Linked DNA regions of Homo sapiens: regions 2, 3 and 4 are each linked to region 1. The links are contacts of gene promoters, found by promoter capture Hi-C in human tissues and cell types (Jung and others, 2019). All regions are on one chromosome and are shown on one strand. Each heading gives the region's core, a stretch centred on a gene start or on the middle of the fragment in contact. The rest is flanking DNA. Distances are from core to core; before and after follow the strand shown.

What was found. The method cuts DNA at HindIII sites, captures the fragments that hold promoters and counts their contacts. A contact is called where the count stands out against the background at its distance.
Region 2: a fragment that was not itself captured here is called in contact with the fragment with the promoter of YKT6 in region 1 in 2 of the 25 tissues and cell types used here (lymphoblastoid cells and mesenchymal stem cells).
Region 3: a fragment that was not itself captured here is called in contact with the fragment with the promoter of YKT6 in region 1 in 3 of the 25 tissues and cell types used here (dorsolateral prefrontal cortex, lymphoblastoid cells and mesenchymal stem cells).
Region 4: a fragment that was not itself captured here is called in contact with the fragment with the promoter of YKT6 in region 1 in 2 of the 25 tissues and cell types used here (dorsolateral prefrontal cortex and spleen).

Annotation. Positions count from the first base shown.
Region 1 is chr7:44,199,608-44,202,307 of GRCh38, reverse strand. It overlaps YKT6 (YKT6 vesicular SNARE protein), which reads right to left and starts at 1,330. Exons shown (of 7, transcript NM_006555.4): 1 at 1,069-1,330. The coding sequence starts at 1,172. RefSeq lists a silencer at 1,154-1,223. The HindIII fragment of the contact is 4,070 bases long and covers 1-1,810 here.
Region 2 is chr7:43,985,435-43,988,134 of GRCh38, reverse strand. It overlaps the pseudogene POLR2J4. Among named protein-coding and RNA genes, the nearest start is that of SPDYE1, 11 kb to the left of the region's middle. RefSeq lists a silencer at 2,123-2,172. The HindIII fragment of the contact is 3,948 bases long and covers 1-2,700 here.
Region 3 is chr7:44,380,790-44,383,489 of GRCh38, reverse strand. It overlaps NUDCD3 (NudC domain containing 3), which reads left to right. Exons shown (of 6, transcript NM_015332.4): 6 at 1-2,700. Among named protein-coding and RNA genes, the nearest start is that of CAMK2B, 57 kb to the right of the region's middle. The HindIII fragment of the contact is 4,191 bases long and covers 1-2,700 here.
Region 4 is chr7:44,442,664-44,445,363 of GRCh38, reverse strand. The region is part of intron 2 of NUDCD3 (NudC domain containing 3); the gene reads left to right. Among named protein-coding and RNA genes, the nearest start is that of NUDCD3, 47 kb to the left of the region's middle. The HindIII fragment of the contact is 5,034 bases long and covers 1-2,700 here.

The DNA.
Region 1 (2,700 bases), core at 81-2,580:
AATTTTGTGTACCATTTTACCACAATTAAAAATATTTTTTTAAAAGAACTCAAAGAAGCAGAAAGTTTCAACAAAATAACATTTTTTTTTTTTTACATCCAGCAAGTCCTTGGCAAAGAACTCTCATCAAGAACCAGCTGCACTGAAGCAGGGAAAACAGAATCCAAACGGCAGATTCCATCAGATTTTGAGACAAGATGACCATAGATACCGACCATGTAGGGTCCTCCTTCTTTCGTGCCTGAGTCACCCCAATCCCTCCCACGAATGGTCTGGAAGTGTCTGTGTTACTTCTAACACGTTCCAGCAATTAAAGCGCCCCAGAAACAAGTAAAAGCCTGTAAGCCCTACAGATCCCATGCTTCATTTGCATCTTCCGTGTGGAATCCTTTTGTACCACTAGTGTCCAACTAAAAAGCGTTAAACCTGGCTTTCAGTTCTAGCTGGTTGTGATATAACCTCTTGGTACCTCAGTGACTTCACCCATTAAAAACAAACAAAAAAAAGTATATCACTATCTCTCATACAGAATTGTTGGGAAGCCCCGCAAGAAAATCAAAATATGGCTCTCAAGATGCGGCACCCAAGCTCCCAGAGTCAGAATCACTGGGTGGGAAGTGTTGGTCTAAAATATAAATACCGAGGCCTCAATCTACTAATTCAGAACATCTTGGCATGAAGCTTGGAAATCTGCACTACTTCACAGTCTCCTTAAAATTTTTACACGACAGAAATTTGAAAAACACTGAGTAGAGAACTATATTCTAGAATGGTATAAGCTCTTAAAGAGCTAATGTTGGTTCCTCAAAGGTAGAGTCCACGGCCAGATTCCATTATAGGAGACCAAGCCCGGACAGCAGACCCCGGGCCCTCCCCACCCCGCCCCGCCTCTGACTCGGACACCAGCCTTCTCAGACCCCGGGCACTCGGCCACCCCGCCCTGCCCCTACCCTTGGCCTCCTCCACCCTCCCCTCATCCCTCCGCCGACCCCAGGCCCACTCCGACTCGGACCCCCACCCCAGTCCTCTCCGCCCGACCGCCACGGCCCACCAGCCTGTGCCGCTCACCTGGATCTCTGGAAAAAGCTGAAGGAAGACACATCGTATGCGGCTTTGAGCAGCACCACCTTGGCCTCGCCTTTGTAGAGGACGCTGAGGCTGTACAGCTTCATGGCTCCGCGCCCTCAGGCCGCCCGCCTGCCCAGCTGCGGGACCCGTTCTCAGGGAGCAGCGCGGCCGCCGCCCCTCGGGACCGCCGCCGCCTACCGGCCTCTCAGCAGCCGGCTGCTGACGGGGCCACCGCCGGCTTCCTCCTCCTGGCTCGCAATCCACTTCCGGATCCGGTCAGCCTGGTTGAGGGTTCTCATACTCCGGATGCAGAAATGTGAGCCCGGAAGTACAATGCAGCGAGGGGCGGGATGCCACGCCTCGCGTAAGCTTGGCCCCTCCCTGCTCGCCAGGTGGAGTCGGGCGCGCGGCGGGATACCGTACTGTCTTGTGCTGGGTGGTGCTGGGCCTCCCACAGCGGCCTGAACCCTTCTTTTTTTTTTTTTTCTTTTCTTTCTTTTTTTAAAGTAAGCATTTTTTTTATTATTATACTTTAAGTTTTAGGGTACATGTGCACAACGTGCAGGTTTGTTACATATGTATACATGTGCCATGTTGGTGTGCTGCACCCATTAACTCGTCATTTAGCATTAAGTATATCTCCTAATGCTATCCCTCCCCCCTCCCCCCACCCCACAACAGTCCCCGGTGTGTGATGTTCGCCTTCCTGTGTCCATGTGTTCTTATTGTTCAATTCCCACCTATGAGTGAGAACATGCGGTGTTTGGTTTTTTGTCCTTGCAATAGTTTGCTGAGAATGATGGTTTCCAGCTTCATCCATGTCCCTACAAAGGACATGAACTCATCATTTTTTATGGCTGCATAGTATTCCATGGTGTATATGTGCCACATTTTAGGAGGAGCTTGTACCATTCCTTCTGAAACTATTCCAATCAAAAGAAAAAGAGAGAATCCTCCCTAACTCATTTTATGAGGCCAGCATCATCCTGATACCAAAGGGTGGCAGAGAGAGACACAACAAAAAAAGAATTTTAGACCAATATCCTTGATGAACATTGAAGCAAAAATCCTCAGTAAAATACTGGCAAACCGAATCCAGCAACACATCAAAAAGCTTATCCACCATGATCAAGTGGGCTTCATCCCTGGGATGCAAGGCTGGTTCAACATACGAAAATCAGTAAACGTAATCCAGCATATAAACAGAACCAAAGACAAAAACCACATGATTATCTCAATAGATGCAGAAAAGGCCTTTGACAAAATTCAACAACCCTCATGCTAAAAACTCTCAATAAATTAGGTATTGATGGGACGTATCTCAAAATAATAAGAGCTATCTATGACAAACCCACAGCCAATATCATACTGAATGGACAAAAACTGGAAGCATTCCCTTTGAAAACTGGCACAAGACTGGGATGCCCTCTCTCACCACTCCTTTTCAACATAGTGTTGGAAGTTCTGGCCAGGGCAATCAGGTAGGAGAAGGAAATAAAGGGTATTCAATTAAGAAAAGAGGAAGTCAAATTGTCCCTGTTTGCAGATGACATGATTGTATATCTAGAAAACCCCATCGTCTCAGCCCAAAATCTCCTTAAGCTGATAAGCAACTTCAGCAAAGTCTCAGGA
Region 2 (2,700 bases), core at 184-2,683, 210 kb after region 1:
AACATCTCTGACTTGGATACCATCTGGCTGGTGGTGGCCCTCAGCAACGGTGGGTGCTGCTGGGGCCAGGCCTCGGTTTTCCCTATGTGAAATGGGCCTGTGGGCCTAAGGGCAGTAGCGGGTGTGTTGCAGGGAGATGCAGGGAGCAGGTGCTGCAGGGGATGGGGCTGGGGAGGGCTGTCAGGCTTGGTAAGGTGAGGGTGGGATCCTGTTGTGTGACCTGTCTGACCATGGTGCCACCCTTAGCCACCCAGAGCTTCACGGCCCCACGGACAAACCAGGACATCCCTGCTCCTGCCAACTTCTCCCAGAGGGGCTACTATCTCACACTGAGGGCCAACCGGGTGCTGTACCAGGCCAGAGGCCAGCTCCATGTCCTCCGTGTTGGCAATGATACCCACTGCCAACCAACAAAAATTGGCTGCAACCATCCCCTACCAGGACCGAGCCCCTACAGGTGAGCGGCTCTGCCAGGCCCTGGCTCCTGCCCGCATGCACCCAAGCCGGAGCCTGGGGCAGCTCCTACGAGGCTCACCAGGGCCCCAGCAGGATGCCTGGGTCCCCTGCTCCTGCTTGGCCAAAGGGAAGAGGAAGCAGCAGGCAGGGGCTGGGGAGGCCTTCATGAATTACATGAATTATCCTTCTTTTTTTTTTTTTTTCCTTTTCTTCTTCTTCGTCGTCTTCTTCTTCTTCTTTTTTTTTTTTTTTTTGAGATGGAGTCTTGCTCTGTGACCCAGGCTGGAGTAGAGTGGTGTGATCTCGGCTCACTGCAACCTGTGCCTCCTGGGTTCAAGCGATTCTCCAGCCTCAGCCTAACGAGTAGCTGGAATTACAGGCATCTGACACCACACCCGACTAATTTTTGTATTTTTAGTAGAGACAGGGTTTCGCCATGTTGGCCAGGTACCTGCCACCATGCCTGGCTAATTTTTGTAATTTTAGTAGAGATGAGGTTTCACCATGTTGGCCAGGCGGGTCTCAACTCCTGGCTTCAAGTGATCTGCCCACCTTGGCCTCCCAAAGTGCTGGGATTACAGACGTGAGCCACCATGCCTGGCCTATCCTGCTTTTCTTGAGCAGAAGGTTCCCCACCTCAAGCCCCAGTCCCCACAGGCCATGTGGACCACTCAGGTGGCGTCTCTCCATCCAGACAGGGTCTCCCCTCACTAAATGCTTGATTCACGCATGTTCAGTTCTGAGAGATCTAATACTCACCCCCTACCTTTCCCAAATGAGGACACAGAAGCCCAGAGAGGGGGAGGGACGTCACACCACTGGAAATGTCACACCTAGATTTGAACCCATTCTGTTGGGCTCTTTCGCCCCAGCCTCCGGCCCCCTCCCCGGGCTGCTCTCGCCAGGGCCTGGGACTCCAGGGGACAGACTTGCAGGCACCAAGTCTGATGGTTTCAGGACTCCGGGGGACCCCCATGGCCAATGCTGGGTCTCCCATTCAGGGTGAAGTTCCTGGTGATGAATGACAAAGGACCCGTGGCTGAAACAAAGTGGTCCAGCAACACTCGCCTGCAGCAAGGTAGGGGCCAGAGGCTCCGGTCAAACAGTAGGGGCAGGGGGCTGGGGCCTGGGGGTCCTGAGGACTGAGGATGGGCTGGGGGAACAGGTCAGCTCACCACTCAGTCAGAGGCAGCCAACCATCTTGCAATCTGCAGGCGCCCCTCCCCCAGCCACCCCCTTCCCCCAGGCCTGGGTGGTGGTAGGGGAGGCAGGGCGGTGATTGGTCTGGATTCTGCCCAAGGGCCCCTTCCGGTCAGGTAAAATTTCTTTTCCTGCCCGCCTATGCGGCCCCCATCACTGCCCTCAGCCCAGGCACTTCGGGCTGTCCCTGGCCCCCAGAGCCCGGGCACCGTGGTCATCATCGCCATCCTGTCTATCCTCCTGGCCGTCGTCCTCACGGTCCTCCTGGCTGTGCTCATATACAGCTGGTGAGTGGACCGGGCTGAGACCGCCCATGCCTCTTGGGAGGGGCGGGGCCCTTGGGCATTAACCCCTCCCTCTCTAGTTCCTCCCCGCCCGCCCCTGCCCACCTTCCAAGCGGGTACTGTGCACCCCCTGGTGGCAGCATCTGGGATTGCAAGTGGTTGCCGCCTGCGGACACCCCAGTCGGGGAGGCGCCCAAGGAGGAGGTGAATTGCTTTCACACCAAGCTCTGAGCATTGCCTCAAGACGCCATACAGGCCGGGTGCAGTGGCTCACGCCTGTAATCCCAGCACTTTGGGAGGCTGAGGCCCGCAGATCACCTGAGGTCAGGAGTTCAAGACCGGCCTGGCCAACATAGTGAAACCCCAGCTCTACTAAAAATACAAAAAATTAGCTGGGTGTGGTGGCACGTGCTTGTAATCCCAGCTACTCAGGAGGCTGAGGAAGGAGAACGGCTTGAACCTGGGAGGTGGAGGTTGCAGTGAGCTGAGATTGCATCACTGCACTCCAACCTGGGTGACAGAGTGAGACTCCATTTAAAAAAAAAAAGGGGGGGGTGTCAGGGTTTCATACAGAGCTCAGGTGCCTGAGCCTGGGGCACAGAGAGTGTCCACAAGGCTTCCTAGAGAAAAGGGGAGACCTAGCCCTGGTGGGATTTGGGGAGGAGGGGGAGAGGGAGTGATAAAAAGGGGGTGGGGAGGTGTGGGGGCAGGAGGGGCAGGAGGAGCAGGAGGGGTGCATGCAGCCAGGCCAGGCAAGGGG
Region 3 (2,700 bases), core at 124-2,623, 180 kb before region 1:
CAAACACCAGCATGGGGAATTCTTAGGGGTTGTTTCCCATCTGGTCTGAATGCACTGGGCAAGATCTCAATACAGCTTTAGAAATCCTGTAAGATTTTGACCAGTGGGGAGAAAAAGAATGTAGCTATAGATCTTACATCCTTTCAAACAGGTTCTGGAATTCTGTAGTTACTGGAAAGCTTAGGGTGAGTGCAGAGTTGGGAATGATTCCACTGAAGGGCCACCTTTGCCCACCAGGCTCCAAGGCCCTCCTTGGTCTCCAGGTGCATACCTGCTGTTAACTTTGCTGAGCCCTCGCAATGGGCTTCCTCCAGGACATAACGCCGTGTCTGACACAGAAGTCTCCCAGGTGGCTGGCCACCTGCTTCTTCCTCAGTCAGATCTTTGACTCTCCTTCTCTGTGCCCACCCCATCTCCAGCCTCCTCTGACCCTGCTCACCCCTGGGGACAGGACCTAGGGGTGTGAGAAGTACTTGGCTGAATAAAGACTGTTTCAAAGGCAATCCTTAGAATTGCCTAGCATACTCCCAGGGCCAGAAATAACCCGCCAGAAAGGAGAGGCGTATTTGCCCCTGAAGAGTGCAGGAGGGAGAACAGTTGAGAAGTGTTTTGTGTGGAAATGTGTCCAAGAGGCGTCAGCTGCTGCACAGAGAACTCACTGCCCAGAACACTGCGCTTGGGGAACAGACCTCACCCCCACCTCAAATCTGCTCTCCACTGGGCCTGTTGGCAGCCAGCTCAGCTGGGGAAGGGACAGCATGACTCGCTTTGTCGATGAAAAGCACGAAGTTGTCAGCACAGAACCTGGCCAGTCCTTGAGAAACTCCCTCCTTGGTGGTCAGAGGTCAAGCAGCCCATGTGGCCCACGGTCCTGAAGAACTGGGCTATGTCCCTGAGGCTCCTCTCTACCGTCTGACTGTGGGGTCTGGGGAACAGGCATTTAAACCAGGCTGCTGCCCTGGGGAGTGCCCACTGGACGCCAGGGTGCCCCATAGGGACAGGGTCACAAAGCCCTGGGGCTTCCCCTGCCAGTCCTGGTGAGGACAGTGTGGTCACTATCTCAGAGAGACGAAAAATGAATATTCTGTCATTTCAGACTAAACTACTCACCCAGCTCACACTAATATGGATTTGTTAATTTTACCTTTTTTTTTCTTTCCAACTTTAGGTTCAAGGGTTGTTACATGGGTAAATTGGATCATAGGGGTTTGGTGTACAGATAATTTTGTCACCCAGGTAATCAGCATGATACCTGATATGTAGTTTTTCAGTCCTCACCTTCCTCCCACTCGGTTTTATTTTTTAGTACTGAAAGTTTAACAGATTGGTCTTACCTCAGAGGGAGGGAAGAAACCCCCCCATCGCTGGGCTCCTTGGTGTGACAGGGGTCTGGTAGGGGTTTTCAATCCCACCACCCATTCCTCCACACCAAATGCCTGAAGTCCCCACTTTGCACAGGGAGACAGCATCGTGCCAGGGAAGAGAGGTCAGGCCCGGCTACCCCTCACAACTTCCTGCTTCCCCCTCAGAGGGTGATGGGGAGACCAGAGCCCATGGCAGGATGAACTGTCACTGAACCCAGCTGGCACAGGTCTGCCAGAACACTCTGGGGGTATGCGCTGGGCTTTCTGGGTAAACCCCTGGCAAGCTGGCGTTTGCTGTCTTCTCAGTGCTGATGGAGATAGGCACACATGGGGTGTGGGAATGTGGCCACCCTCAGGCAGGTTCACGAGGGTACTGTCAGGCGCTCAGGTGTATGCCGCCTCCTGTCAGGCAGGGCTGAGGCTATTCTCCCTGGAGAAGGACAGCTTAGGAAACACTTGCAGGAAAGCTGCCTGGACCTGGGAGGTGACCCTGGCCAGCCTCCCTGCTGCCTCTCTCAGTCCTAGGCCTTCTTCCCCAGAGCTGGTCAGGGCCTGAGGGACTTTGTAGTCTAACCCCTCATTGTGCTACAATCACAGGAGTAAGTAACACTCCCAAGGCCATGTGGCTGGTGACTCGGGGGGCCCAGGTCCAGGATCCTGCCCCATCTGCAGGCCAGTGGTTCCTTGTCTCCTATTTGCTTCTTGGAGCAGCCTCCTCATAAGCCAACAGCTCCTTCACCTGAGCCCAGTCACTTTGCGCTCCTCCCCAGAACCAAAGAGCAAGACCATCTGCCCCAGGTACAGTCCTGGCCATGCCACACTCTCTGTGGCATCATGACCAAGGTGAGTGGCAGATACTGAAATCATCCAGGGCCACTGCAGGCCCCATTCCCAGTGGACTGTTCATCAAGGGACCCTGTCTCAGGCCATCTCAGCCAACCTTGTTGCCCAGCACAGGTCTGGCACATTGGAGATGATCTGTGTTGGATGGGGAAGGCAGAGGGAGGATCCTCCAGCATTGATCACCCATCAAAACCCTCAACAACCCAGACATTGCCGCTGCACTGACCCCATGCTATGAGGAGGTCACTCAGGCTGTTAGGAGCCTGCTGACTCAGGCATTGGGCTGGGGCCCTGCCTGCCTTGTCTGCCTGCCAGCGGAGCACTGCCCCAAGCCCTTCTTACTGCAGAGACAGGCTCTTGCCTCCCAGTGTGCACTTTGTGCAAGACACAGGCAGGTAAGGGTCTACCAGAGGACAGGAAGTGTTGTTGGGGCACTGTGGGGTTTGGAGGAGGCCCCTCTAGCAGGGAAAGCGAGCCCTAACCTCTGCTGGAC
Region 4 (2,700 bases), core at 160-2,659, 240 kb before region 1:
CAAGACCCTGATTCATGCTAAAGAATTGGGGCTTATCTTTAGAAACTGGGGCAACTTATCTAACTCAAGAGTGTTTGCTCAGATTTGTCAGAAAGTTAATAGGCAGCAGTCAGTCAGGGTGGACAAGGTAGGGGATGTAGAAAGGATACATACCAGGCAGCTGTTGCAGTTCAGGGGTGCATGTGCGGAAGATATAGAGATAGCACTGTGTTCTTTGGAGTGTAAGGGGCAGGCAGCAGGAAGGGTCAGCCAAAGGAAACCAGTGAGTTGGAGGAGAGGGAGAACAGGTGGAGGTGGAGCAGAGGGAGAGCCTGGGTAGTCCAAGGGTGGGACATTCATGTCAGATGTTGTGGAGGTATCAGATGGACAGAAATTCAGAAAGGCAAGTTTGGTTATGATACTTGGAAGTCATTTGTGATTGGCAGAGATTTCACAGTGGGGCATATTGGAAGGTAAGGTGGGAAGAAACTGACTCAAGATGTTTCGCTGGGAATAAAAGGAAGAAGGCAGCAGCCTGAACAGAAGGCTGGTTGAAAGAAGAGTTGTGAGTCCTTGTGTTTGACTGATTTTAAGGAAGAGTGAGGCATGAGGCAAGGTATCAGTGGGTAAGAAGGGCTTGGGGATCCAAGAGACCAAGTGATACTTACGGCACAGGGTCTCACAGAGGGGAGTGGGAGCTTCTCCCAGGCCTACAGGACTCAGCATTACTGATAGTGGGTGCGTGCTAATTAACGTTAAAGTTGGGGTGTTATGTAAGTATTCAATTTGTAGAGGAGTTTTGCTCTGTCAAAGTAATTCTTTGCTTTACCAAAAGGACTTAGTGTAAGATTCTATTAAATAGCAAACTCGAGTTTGTTGAGGTTTTCTCTTTGTGAATGTATATAAATGCTGCACTTGTGTGAGGCTTCTCAGGGATTGGGCCCTGTCTCCCAGCCAGAAAAGCTTTCTGTTCTTTACATCCACCTTCCCCTGTCCCCAGGCCTGGGACACCTCGGACAGGTCTTGGAGGGAGCAAACCTTTGTGATTATCTGGATGCTTTCTCAGAAAGAAGAGGGGCAGAGGGGCTGCTTTACTTTTTCTGGCTTTCTCTTTTTAGATTTACAGGCCAAGGAACAGGTGATAGGATGCCTCCTATCCTATCATCTGTTGATAACCTGTGAGATGAGAAGGTTAAAGTGGCGGGCAGGGACCCTGAGTCTGTAGCCCTCCTTGCACTGGCCTGAGCCTTCTCATTCCAGAAATTCTGTTCTCAATACAGCAAACCTTCGGTTTTGCTCATAGAAAAAGCTCTAGCCTTTTCACATGATAGCGTCTTTTGAAGCTGAGAGGTATCCAAATGCATTAGTCTTAGATGAACACACCTGGAATCTCACTTTTATGAGAATTTCATAGACTATACTCTTGAATTCCAGTTGTACATTTTTGCTTGCAAACACAGGCATTTCAGAGTATAATGAGAGGAGGCTGGTGCTCATAAAGAAGACTGACTTTACAGTAAACCACCTCCCAGGAGAACTGAAGATGGGGCTTGAGCTGAGGTGGGGTCTCTTCTCCACTATCCCGAGCAGCACCTGGGCCCCAGGTCTTCACCTAGACAGTCAAGGACCTCAGCCTAAACAGCATCCAGCTCTTAGAAGTCCTGTGAAATTGGGCCAGGCACTGTGGGTCACGCCTGTAATCCCAGCATTTAGAAGGAGGCTGCGGCAGGTGGATCACTTGAGGCCAGGAGTTCGAGACCAGCCTGGCCAACATGGCGAAACCCCGTCTCTACTAAAAATACAAAAATTAGCTGGGTGTGATGGTGCATGCCCGTAATCCCAGCTATTGAGGAGACTGAGGCAGGAGAATTGCTTGAACCCGGGAGGTGGAGGTAGCAGTGAGCCAAGATGGCGCCACTGCACTCCAGCCTGGGCGACAGAGCGAGACCCCATCTCAAAAAAAGAAAAGAAAAAAGAAAAGAAAAAAAAAGATTTCTTGTAAAATTGAAAACAAAATTCAGACTTTGGCTACTTGAATCTTGTTTAATGTAATAGGAAAGCTGATAATTTAAAGGTAACAAGTTGTGGAATGTCTTCTTTAAGATTAGCATGCAGTCTCATTGTACCTGTTACCTGTTCTTTTTTTTTTTATATTGAATGTGTTCAAAGCTCATCCCACCTGTATGCAGAGTGTGTTAGAAACTGTGCTGGATGTGGTTGTTCTCTTTCTAGAAGGTAGGGCTCCCATGACAGCCATATAGGTTCTCTTGGTTGCATAAGTAAACATAAATAAACCAGTAAACAAAATGCCTGCTTTCTGTGTGAATACGTTGTCATTTGATGTCATGGTGTTAAGTATGAAGGTGCTATAAAGAAAAGGGGAGGCCAGGTGCGGTGGCTCACCCCTGTAATCCCAGCACTTTGGGAGGCCAAGGTGGGTGGATCACGAGGTCAGGAGATCGAGACCATCCTGGCTAATACGGTGAAACCCCTTCTCTACTAAAAATAGAAAGAAAAAAAATTTAGCCAGGCGCAGTGGTGGGCGCCTGTAGTCCCAGCTACTCGGGAGGCTGAGGCAGGAGAATGGCGTGAACCCGGGAGGCGGAGCTTGCAGTGAGCCGCGATAGCGCCACTGCAGTCCGGCCTGGGCCAAAGAGTGAGACTCTGTCTCAAAAAAAAAAAAAAAAAAAAGAAAAGGGGAGAGTCCGCCCCTCTTGTAGT